3 separate regions of the Homo sapiens genome follow, and regions 2 and 3 are each linked to region 1. The links are contacts of gene promoters, found by promoter capture Hi-C in blood cells and fetal thymus (Javierre and others, 2016). All regions are on one chromosome and are shown on one strand. Each heading gives the region's core, a stretch centred on a gene start or on the middle of the fragment in contact. The rest is flanking DNA. Distances are from core to core; before and after follow the strand shown.

Evidence for each region. Contacts are between HindIII fragments. The CHiCAGO score rates a contact against its expected background, and 5 or more counts as called.
Region 2: a contact is called between a fragment that was not itself captured here and the fragment with the promoter of TMEM51-AS2 in region 1, in 1 of 17 cell types (M1 macrophages). The highest score is 7.4, in M1 macrophages.
Region 3: the fragment with the promoter of CELA2A here is called in contact with the fragment with the promoter of TMEM51-AS2 in region 1 in 12 of 17 cell types (erythroblasts, activated CD4 T cells, monocytes and 9 more); the score reaches 13.0 in erythroblasts.

The regions. Positions count from the first base shown.
Region 1 is chr1:15,169,898-15,173,764 of GRCh38, forward strand. TMEM51-AS2 (TMEM51 antisense RNA 2) reads right to left here and starts at 1,727. Exons shown (of 3, transcript NR_167931.1): 1 at 1,714-1,727; 2 at 1,284-1,418. The region is part of intron 1 of TMEM51 (transmembrane protein 51); the gene reads left to right. RefSeq lists an enhancer at 2,247-2,416. The HindIII fragment of the contact is 7,186 bases long and covers 1-3,867 here.
Region 2 is chr1:14,739,053-14,742,919 of GRCh38, forward strand. The region is part of intron 1 of KAZN (kazrin, periplakin interacting protein); the gene reads left to right. Among named protein-coding and RNA genes, the nearest start is that of KAZN, 140 kb to the left of the region's middle. RefSeq lists enhancers at 3,004-3,588, 3,589-3,867. The HindIII fragment of the contact is 2,615 bases long and covers 714-3,328 here.
Region 3 is chr1:15,454,775-15,458,641 of GRCh38, forward strand. It overlaps CELA2A (chymotrypsin like elastase 2A), which reads left to right and starts at 1,958. Exons shown (of 8, transcript NM_033440.3): 1 at 1,958-2,019; 2 at 2,312-2,400. The coding sequence starts at 1,980. The HindIII fragment of the contact is 8,750 bases long and covers 1-3,867 here.

The DNA of each region.
Region 1 (3,867 bases), core at 477-2,976:
AGTAATTTTTATTCCCTTTCTCCCTGTCTTCTCTTTTCTAACCTGTACTTTCTGAGTTTCCCACAGAGAAACATGTATGACTTTGTATTAAAGTAACAGCTTTAAGTTCAAATGGTCCTAATGATCTGGGTGACCTTGAGCCATGGCTCACTTTCTCGAAATGGGGAGAATAGTTTTAGGATGTTGTGAAGATTCAACTATAAATGTACTTAAAACAGTACATGCTCAATACATTTTTAGGTGTTACTGTCATAATTATTTTTGAAAATCTTTCCATTCTAGTAAGTCCATTCCAAATCCAAGCCAAACACACCTGAGAGTCGTGGGGCTTTATCTCAGAATGCCTGGGAGTACAGACCCATGAGCAAGCCAACTTCCTCCTTTCCCTCCTCTCCCCCGGCCCTCTGCTGCAGGGCAAGGTAAAGCTAGGTGCCTGGGATACTGCTGGGTTTTTTTTTATCTTTTTTTTTTTTTGAGATGGAGTCACTGCAACCTCCGCCTTCCAGTTTCAAGCGATTCTCCTGCCTCAGCCTCCTGAGTAGCTGGGATTACAGGTGCGCACCACCACGCCCGGCTAATTTTTGTATTTTTTGGTAGAAACGGGGTTTTGCCATGTTGCCCAGACTGGTATCAAACTCCCAGGCTCAAGTGATCTGCCCACCTCAGGCTCCCAAAGTGCTGGGATTATAGGCGTGAGTCACCACCACACCTGGCCTATTTTAACCATTTTTAAGTGTACAATTCTGGGACATTAAGCACATTTACAGTGCTGTGTGACCATCGCCACTGTCTTTTTTCCAGAACTACTACATCATCCCAAACAGAAATGGAGGCAGGTTTTCTTTTTTTGAGACGGAGTCTCCCTCTGTCGCCCAGGCTGGAGTGCAGTGTTGCGATCTCAGCTCACTGCAAGCTCCGCCTCCCGGGTTCATGCCATTCTCCTGCCTCAGCCTCCCAAGCAGCTGGGACTACAGGCGCCCTCCACCACGCCTGGCTAATTTTTTGTATTTTTAGTAGAGACGGGGTTTAACCGTGTTAATCAGGATGGTCTCGATCTCCTGACCTCATGATCCGCCCGCCTCGGCCTCCCTAGAGGCAGGTTTTCTAAATGCTTGCATGAGTGGTTCTCCATCTTCAGCTTGTGTTAGAATCCTCTGGGGTGGGGGGCTTGTTAAAACATAGATTGCTGGGTCCTCCCTCCTCCTCCACCCCCCGCCACATCCCCCACCCCCAGTTGCTGATTCAGTAGGTCTGAGTGGGGCCCCAGGATTTGCATTTCTAACCAGCTCCTGGGTGACGCTGATGCTGTTGATTTGGGGCCACGCCTGGAAGATCGCTGTTTGAGATCAAAAGGTTTGCAGGTCAGAGTGGATGACGGCATCCTTCCAGGTCAATGAGAGAAGCCAAACTTCTATGACCTATGAGATAAGGGGTTTGTTATAGGAATTAGTTCTTATGCATTCATAGGGGGGGCGGCAGAAAGGAAGGTGGAAGAGTTGCCGGGGACCAGGGGCATCGCCACCTGGCCCTGGGTACACGGGCAAACTGGTGGAGAAGTCTACAGCCAGCCGTTGTCTGGTCCATCCCCAGCCAAGTGTCCGCGGGGGGGCCTGGGCTGCTGTTGGTTAACAGGACCAGCAGTCAGGAGAAAGAGCTGGATGCAGAATGGAGGACAGGCTCGAATGTGCTGGAACCCACGGGGCTGTCTCTCACCTCATCCAATCATGATGACCTCTAAAGTGTAATGGTCGCTGCTTCACTTCCATCTCCCAGCTTTCCACAGATTCCTCTTTTGACCAATTATAACCCAGAACCAGTCAGAGAAGGGGATTCTGGGAAAAGTAGTTCCAGCTTAACCAAGCCCGCACAGCAGGAACTACCACAGCTGATCAATCAGTCCTTGCCGCGGAACCTCCTCCTTGAACCCACAGGTGGTTTCTGGGGCTCTGCTGGGCGTTCCCTGACTCTCTTGACAGGACCTTCTAGCAGAAACAGATGTGGTCCATCCCAACAACCCCTTGCTCAGATCATCAGCTGAGAACTTAATAAAAGCAGATTTCCAGGCCCCAGCCCAGGCCTGCCGAGTCAGACTTCAGCAGTGGGACTCAGGAATCAGATTTTCAAACAAGCTCTCTAGCTGATTAACATACCCAGCCACGTTTGAAACTTCTGAAGTATGGAAAAGAAAGTGGACTCTGTCCAGGCACAGTGGCTCACACCTGTAATCCCAGCACTTTGGGAGGCTGAGGCAGGTGGATCGCTTGAGCCCAGGAGTGCAAGACCAGCCTGGGCAACATGGCAAAACTCCATTTCTGCAAAAAAGAAAAAATACCAAAATTAGTGGAGCATGGTGACACGTGCCTGTAGTCCCAGCTACTTGGAAGGCTGAGGTGGTAGGGTCACCTGACCCTGGGAGGTCAAGGCTGCAGTGAGCCAAGATTGTGCCACTGCACCCCAGCCTGGGCAACAGAGTGAGTGAGACCCTGTCTCAAAAAAAAAAAAAAAAAAAAAGGAAGGAAGGAGGAGGGAGGGAGGAAAGAAAAGAATGGAAAGGAAGGAAGGAGAGAGAGAAAGAAGAAAAAAGAAAGAGAAGAAGGAGAGAGAGAGAGACAGAGACAGAAGAAAAAGGAAAAGAGAAAGTAAGTGAACTCTGGGGCTAGACAGCCACGGGTTAGAATTCTGGTTCCACCACGTGCCAGCTTTGTGATCCTGAGCAAGTGACTTAACCCTTTATGATCCTATATTGTCTACAAGAGTTCCTCCTTTTCTATCATTTCACTCTCCACTGTTTCAGTTACCCATAGCCAACTACAATCTGAAAATATTAAATGGAAAATTCCGGAAAGATATGATTCATAAGTTTTAAATTGCATCCCATTCTGAGTAGTGTGATGAAATCTCACACTGTCCCACTCTGTCCTGCTCCAGACGTGAATCGTCTCTTTGTCCAGCAGATGGGTGCTGTCGACACTACCTGCTCATTGGTCACTTAGGAGCGGTCTGGGTTATCAGATCAGAAAACGTCGTCGTTATGTGTAAGGTCGGGTGCTGTCTGTTGTTTCAGGCATCCACTGGGGGTCTTGGAACGTATCCCCCGAGGATATGTACTCAGCTGTTAAATGGGCTCAATGCCTACCTTTTTCATGGAGGGTTGTGGGAACCGAATGAGGCCATGTGTAATAAACTTCTGGCAGGTGAAATATTATTGTGCTTAATCCAGTTAATAGTTGTGCCTGGACATGCCTAGGGAGTAGGTCAGATGGGCCCAGCATCTCCTCTTTCTGCTTAGGAATCTGGGGTTTAACCTGATCATATTCTTTTTTTTTTTTTTTTTTTTTTTGAAACGGAGTTTCGCTCTTTTGCCTAGGCTAGAGTGCAGTGGCGCAATCTCGGCTCACTACAACCTCTGCCTCCCAGGTTCAAGCGATTCTCCCGCCTCAGCCTTCCGAGTAGCTGGGATTACAAGCGCACACTACCACGCCCAGCTAATTTTTTGTATTTTTAGTAGAGACGGGGTTTCACCATGTTGGCCAGGCTGGTCTCGAACTCCTGACCTCAAGTGATCCACCCACCTCAGCCTCCCAAAGTGCTGGGATTACAGGCGTGAGCTACTGCGCCTGGCCAACCTGATAGTATTCTTAACACAGATTGTTTTCCTGCCATCATGAAAACTAGACTTGCTTTAAAGTCTTTAGAGTCTCAGTTCATATTCCAGGCATTGTTTTACATAAATATCATCTGTTTATTTTTTCTTTAAGCAAATTTCACAAACTCCATCTAAAAAAAAAAAAACACAAACAAAATTCATCTGTCAAAGAAGAGCCTTTCAACTTCTAGTTCTGTTTATCTAAAAACACCCTTTCTTCA
Region 2 (3,867 bases), core at 771-3,270, 430 kb before region 1:
TGTGGTCCCAGGAGTCCTCAGGAGGCTGAGGTAGGGGGATCACTTGAGCCCAAGAGTTGAGGTTGCAGTGAGCTATGATTGCACCACGGCACTCCAGCATGGGCAACAGAGTGAGACTTTGTCTCAAAACAAAACAAACAAAACACTAAGCCCATCTAGCGTTAAAAGCCATGTTCTTTTTAATCGATGCTGTGCCAGATATGCAGATTTAAGTCACAAATGGTTTCCATTGTCAAGCCAAATTTTAAATCCGGGACTGTGTGAAGTGAGAAGCTATTGGAGTGGATGGCCTCTGGCTGCTACCCCATACCCCAGCTTTATTAGGTGCTGGCATCGGAAGTACAAGCAAGAGACGGGCAGTGTCCTGTGGTGGATTTCCATTCCTGTGGGGGAAAATCCTCCTGTTCGTGTGATAACTTCGCACCTCCTAAAAGCCCTTTGATGCCCAAAACTCCTTCATAAGCTCAAGTGTTTCCTCCCCTTGGCCGGGTGGGGAAATTCTAAGGAACCATTCTCAGGCTAGGCTGATGAAGGGAGGGATGTCATTTTCTCACTTGAGGACGCTTTCAAGACGTTTCACATGACGAGAAGTCTTCACACCACCAACTTCCCCTTTTTTTTTTGTATTGTTTGAAGTTCAAACTGGAGAACTAACTGTGGTAACGGGTCAAGTCAGCCCAGCCAAAGGAATGACGGATTCAAAAAAAGTGGAAAGCTTCGAATTTCCTCACTTAGAATAAAAAAATGTTGATCTGTCTGCCCACGTGCAAACAGAGAGCCTGCGAGGAATTCATCTGCACCCTTCAGGAGGGTTTGTATCTGCTCTGGGATTTCTACAAGCAGAAAGGAGAATTATTTTCGTGATTCAGAGCAATTCTTCAGTGGGAAATGTCACCCTGAATCCTTTTGGCTCTGGTTTATTGGGGCATTTGCTGAGCAGTTGAGAACGGGGGAAAGAAGGAGTCCTTTCCTTTCTAGGAGGCACCTGGATACATCTGCAGTCAACAAGGGACCATCTGCCTTGCAAAGCGGGGTTTTTGTGGATCAGACCCAAGCCGAGTGTGTGCTGGGGCTGTGGCAAATACCCTGCAGCCCCTAGGAGGCAAATTGGTCCCTCCACAGGCAGCTGTGGCTTAGACATCCCTGGAGCTCAGGGAACCAACCGTGGTATGACACGTAAGAGCTCCAGAGACACCGTGCTGTGCGGGGAGCTGCAATCCCAGATGCACAGGCTGTGTTTCTGGGCAGGACGCCTCTAAACCGATGCAGAGAAAACTTGGTGGAGGGAGTGGAATTTGACTTCCAGTCAAATGTCATCCTGACATCCAGTCCCATGCACAAACTATGATGCTTTTTCCTTTAGCACCTTTGGTCCTTGTCTCCTCTTCACTATTATATGTGCCCACTTCTCTTCTCTGGATTATGACAGCTGCCAACTGCTGCCTTGCTAAAAGTCTCGCCCACCCCAATTCCATCCTATCCTCTGCCTCCGCCCCCCCAAAAAAATGAATTACATTGTATGGTTCTCCTTCTTTAAATCCCTCTATAGCTCCTGTCTCCTTGGCGTGGTTTGAGCCCCACAGACCTCTCCCGCTCTGGCCGCCCGCACTCCCATCTCAGGTTTCTACTGCTGTGATTCTGAGCTGCACCTTGGGCCATTCCTGGGATCAAGAGGGTCTCTTGATTTCTTGCTCTTTGTTCATTCTCCTTCCTTTGCCTGGAATTCCTTTAGCCCTCCTTCTTGCCAGCCCCCAAACAGGAAAGATTCCACCTTTGCTGGGCTTTGGGGATTCCAATTACTAACTGTAGGAATAACAGGGCATTTGGAAATTCAGTTTTATCGTTTCCTGGGGAATGACAGACACTTTCCCTCCATGGTGCCTGTGGGGGTGGCAGGTCCTGCCCTCTGTTCACAGACCTGGAGGGGAGTGGGAAGGAGCTCTGTGCTTTGAACATGCTTCTCTGGGGGTGCAGCCTCCAGGCAGCTGGGGCAGGATCATGCCCTCACTCTCTCCCTTGTGCTACCATGGAGGTCCTGTGTGCTGACCAAGCACTTGTCCCAAGTTGCTGGAGCGGGTCGTTTATTTGCTCTGCATCCGAGGCCTGAATATGATTGGTGCTTCACTTTTAAATGCGTGCATGAATAAATGGACTTGTCTTTCTCCCCTGTGACATAATCCAGAAGAGGAACTCTATCTTGACCATCTTTGCCTCCCCAGCACCCAGCACCATGCCTGAAGCACACAGTTGCTCAATGTCGGGCATGAGGATGCTAGAGGAGGGGGCAGCTGGTGGCACAGGTGGCTATGGTTGCCTCAGCTCAGGCAAATCCCATGGGCATGTGGAGACCCAGAGACCTACAGTTTTTTTCTTGGGTTTGTTGGCTTTTAGAGTTCTAACAGTTCCAGCCTCTTCTCTTGGGCCTCCTGGAAGGGAATGTCTGTCAGAATCTCCCATCAGGTCCTGAAATTTGAGAGCACAACTATTTACATATTGAAAAGGTCAGGATAGCGTGTGACAGTTTTACTTTGATTGAACTAGTATCTTTTTATTTTTCTCTTACATGAGGCTGAGCTACTTGCTGAACTGAAAAGGAGAGGGAGGGAGAAGGGGCACTTCCCCCCGGGGTTTCAAGACCTGCTGAGCTTCATAGCCAAGAGGTTCTCACTCCCCACTCAAGTGTCAGCTTTCCAGAATGGCCCCTTGAAGACAAAAACTCTTTCAAGGCATATTAAACAATAGCAAACTCTGATAAAATTCCATTCTGGTGGCATGTTTTATGAGAAACTGATGAGGGGCCCTGAAATGCATCTCAACCTTGATGTTTGAGCCAGAATCCAAATATTCCCTTTCTGTTAACCAATTCAATGTTGCTTCTCTCTTGTGGTTGTTTTTTTTTGGGTTGTTTTTTGTTTTGTTTAGGATTTTCCTTGTGGGAAGCCACATTCACCTTCTTGATACTATGAAATGGCTATACAGAAAAATAGAACCATCCCCAAGCAAAGATTCCTCCCCCTTTGGAATTGTCCCAGTGTGGACAGCACTTCCCTCCAACTTTGGATGAACAGAACAAACGAAAGGAGGAACTGTGAGTGGGGTCCTCTCCAACTGCTATAATGTCAGCTCCAGGAAAGCAGTGACCTTGTCCGTCCTGTTCACTGCCTGTTCCCAGCATCTAGAAGAGGGCCTGGCTCATAGTAGGCACTGAATAAATATTTGTGAAGAAGCTGCTAGATTGCAGGCTTTGTGATGGCAAGGACTCTGCCTAGGTCTGTGTTATTCATGAATGTGTCCCTCCCACTTAAGAGCACAGCAGGCACAAAATAGAAGCTTATTCATTCATTGAGCAACTACCATATGCCAGAGATGACTCAGGCACTGAATAAATACTTGTTGGATTAACTAAGTGCATTCTTGCGTACGTGCTTGAATGAATGAAGGAATGAGCGAATGAAAAAAAAACCAATGAGTCAGTTCATCCGCCAGCAATAACCAATCTCGCCTCTCTGTGCTGCAGTCTTGGGACAATAAGCCTGGAGGTTTCTCTCCCTGTGCTTTTTCTCGCTTGTTGTGATATCCCTGCCTACCAAAACTCCCAAGAAGTGTCAGCTCCAATGATGTTTCTTTGAATCACCCCATCTGGCAAGATGCAAACACTCTTGCTTTTGAATTGCTTTGTCACTTTCTGTCTTAGCTGTTGAGCACAGTTCAAAACCCATTTGCTGAGCCTGTCCTGTGGACAGCCATGGTGGCAGGAGCCAGGGATGTAGAAGTGACCCTGGAGTCACCAGGGTTCAGTGTGTGTCTTGCCTGCCTGGATTGTACAAGCACCCACGGCTCAGAGACGGAGACTTCCTCCTCTCTGTA
Region 3 (3,867 bases), core at 708-3,207, 290 kb after region 1:
CTAGGAAAGTAAGGCCCAGAAGATAAGTGGCTTGTCCAGACCACCACACTCAAAATTGATGGATCAAAGACTTGAACTCGGCTGGGCGCGGTGGTTCATGCCTGTAATCCCAGCACTTTGGGAGGCCGAGGCGGACGAACACGAGGTGAGGAGTTCAAGACCAGCCTGGCCAATATGGTGAAACCCCGTCTCTACTAAAAATACAAAAATAAGTCGGGTGTGGTGGCCGGTGCCTGTAGTCCCAGCTACTAGGGAGGCTGAGGCAGAAGAATCACTTGAACTTGAGAAGCAGAGGTAGCAGTGAGCCGAGATCGCGCCACTACGCCCTAGCCTGAGTGACAGAGCGAGACTCCGTCTCAAAAAAAAAAAAAAAAAAAAAAAAAAAAAAAAAAAAAAAACACTTGATATCAAGTCTTAAGAGTGTGGAGCTGGTCTTTTTTTTTTTTTTTTTTGAGATGGAGTCTTGCTCTGTTGCCCAAACTAAAGTGCAGTGGTGCGATCTCAGCTCACTGCAACCTCCACCTCCAAGGTTCGAGAGGTTATCCTGCCTCAGCCTCCTGAGTAGCTGGGACTACAGGCATGCAGCCCCACACGCTACTAATTTTTGTATTTTTAGTAGAGACGGGGTTTCACCATGTTGGCCAGGCTGGTCTTGAACTCCTGGCCTCAGGTGGTCTGCCCGCATCAGCCTCCCAAAGTTCTGGGATTATAGGAGTGAGCCACCGTGCCCGGCCGTAAAGTGCATTTTCATCCACCAGATGAAGCCCTCCTCTGCCAGCGTTCTGCTTCCCCCCATCATTAGAGTGGCCAGATCCTAATTGTGCATGTCGGCCTTGCCTTCTGCTACATGTGCACCTTCCCCGCATTATGCAAATTCTGCTACATGTGCACCTTCCCCACATTATACAAATCCTTACCACAATGTTGTGAAACAATACTGGGCATGGGTTTCTCTCCCTGTTTCACAGATGGGTCTAGAGACTTACATGACTCAGCCAAGGTCACATTGCAACCCCTGGTATGGCCTAGAACAGGCTTTCTCAGTCTCAGCACCATTGACATTTGGGGCAGGGCGAGTCCTATTGCCCAGTGCATTGTCGGGTGTTTAGCAGCGTCTCTGCTCTCTGCTCCCTGCCCACTGGATGCCAATTTACATCAACCCCAGCCATGACAACCAAAATTCTCTCCAGATGTTGTCAAACGTCTCCTGGTGGGCTGAACCAGCCCCATTGAGAAATACTGCCTTAGAATGCTGTGGGCTCAGCATGCCACCTTAATCTTTTCATTGAAAACACAACTCCTGGCCGGGCATGGTGGCTCAGCCTGTAATCCTAGCACTTTGGGAGGCCGAGGCGAGCAGATCACTTGAGGCCAGGAGTTCGACACCAGCCTGGCCAACATGATGAGACCCCCCGTCTCTACTAAAAATACAAAAATTAGCCAGCAATGGTGGCACACACCTGTAATCCCAACTACTAGGGAGGCTGAAGCAGGGGAATTGCTTGAACCCAGGAGGCAGAGGTTGCAGTGAGCTGAGATCACGCCACTTCATTCCAGCCTGGGTGACAGAGCAAGACTCCATCTCAGAAAGAAAAAAGAAAGAAAGAAAGAAAGAAAACACAACTCCTCTCCTCAGTCTTACCCAGGGAGGGGAACAAAAACAAACAAACAAAAAAAAAAACAACTCCGAGCACCAACAATTAGTATTTTTCTTCCTTCCCTAACACACAACATAATCTCTTCAAAACAGATGGAACCCATATTCCAATATCTACCTTTGGCATCTTTTTCAAAGTATTTCTAGGGTGACATTTGGGAGGAAATGGGAAAAAAAAAATATTTGGACACAGCTCTTTTTTCCACTGGGCTTTGAGAAAACCCCATCTTGCGTGCTCTTACTGTATCTCTCACTGATAAGTCCGCTCATAAAACCAGGGCCTTATCCAGGGCCACGCTTACAGAACTCCCACGGACACACCATGATAAGGACGCTGCTGCTGTCCACTTTGGTGGCTGGAGGTAAGTCCTGTTACCCAGAGGCACTGGTTTCCCATGCCCTGGTGGGGCTGGAAATGGGATCTTCCTGTCCTCCCCTCTCGCCCCCACCCAACCCCTACTGCATTCAGACCTATAATCATAAGAACATTGGAATGGAGTTTCAAAGAATTGGAGCAAAGAGCAGGATTCTATGACCTCTTGGGATCCTTCTAGAACAAGGGTTTTCTATTTGGGGGGTCAGAATGCGCAGCAAGTGTAGTTTACATTGTGTGGGTCGCTGCTTCCTGACTCAAGACCCTTTCTCTTTTCACAGCCCTCAGTTGTGGGGACCCCACTTACCCACCTTATGTGACTAGGGTGGTTGGCGGTGAAGAAGCGAGGCCCAACAGCTGGCCCTGGCAGGTGAGTTGACCACACTGTACTTCTCCCCGTCCCTGCCCCACTCCCTTTACATCTCCCCTTTGCCCTTCCACCATGGCGTCTATTGTGCTGGCAAAGTGAGTATTGATGGGACTCAGAGAGCAGCACAGGCAACTTTAGCAATAAGATATATTTCCGGCTGGGCGCAGTGGCTCATGCCTGTTATCCCAGCACTGTGGGAGGCTGTGGTGGGCAGATCACCTGAAGTCAGGAGTTTGAGACCAGCCTGGCCAACATGGTGAAACCTGCCTCTACTAATAATACACAAGTAGCCAGGTGTGGTGGCACACGCCTGTAATCCCAGCAACTGGGGAGGCTTAGGCAGGAGGATCGCTTGAACCCAGGAGGCAGAGGTTGCAGTGAGCTGAAATTGCACCACTGTACTCCAGCCTGGGCAACAAAGCAAGACTCTGTCTCAAAAAAAAAAAAAAAGATACATTTCTGTGGCCTTGGCCAACCTTGGGAGTGGAGGGAGAGGTGCCTCCTCCAGCTGCAGTAAGGAGCTGTCCCCTCCCCACTGCCCATAGGCAGCAAATATAGTATTACTCTATTAACCAATCAGAGGCTTGTTTACAAATGTACCATCAGTCTAGGAACCATTCAAGACTACCTATGCAAACATTCCTTGCTTTAAGGAACCAATCAGTGCTATTTGCGCAGATTAATCTTTAACCACAGGCAAATCAATGTTACCAATGAAAAAAATGTTTTCTTAAGTTGATATAATCATAGTGGTATCAAGACTAAACTGCCAAGTGGGGCACAGGTGTAAATTACTCAGACGTGTTAATGGTGGGGATTTTAAGAGAAATGTGTAAAGTTTACATTGACATAAACAAATATAGTGAAATCTCATTTATCTGATGTAATTGGGACCGAGTAATTGAAAAGTTGGTTATAAAGAAATTATTTTAAATCATATATATATAGTAAAGATTTTATCTTAGACTATGTAAACAATTTTTTGAGTTCTTAACTGTCTTTTTCATATAAGCCATGCCCCATATCTTATCTACAAACCCGTTTCTTTAAAGCAGAGCAGTAACTTTGAGACGTTCACAAAGCAATCTGAGTTATGAGCCCATCCAATCTTTCCATTTTCTCACAGACACTACTTCAAGAGCAATTTTTTAAGAGTCATGGTGATCCAGTCTCTTCCAAGCATTTAACTTTGTTTCCATATAAATAACGACTCTCTTTCTGAACTCATATTTCATTGGTTACATGTTTAATCAAATTTCATTATTACAAGCATAATTGATATAAACTGCTTTGGGAGCAAACCCAGCTGAATCAGGATGAGTTTCTACCTTAAGTAGGAGGAGCAACTAGCAGCCCACTAGCCTTGAGCATTCAGAGTGACCCATGCAGCAGTCACTGTGTTTAGAGAGGCCAGCGTTCATTCATCTGCTCCTTGATTAAGAGACTGTCAATGATAGGCCAGGCGTG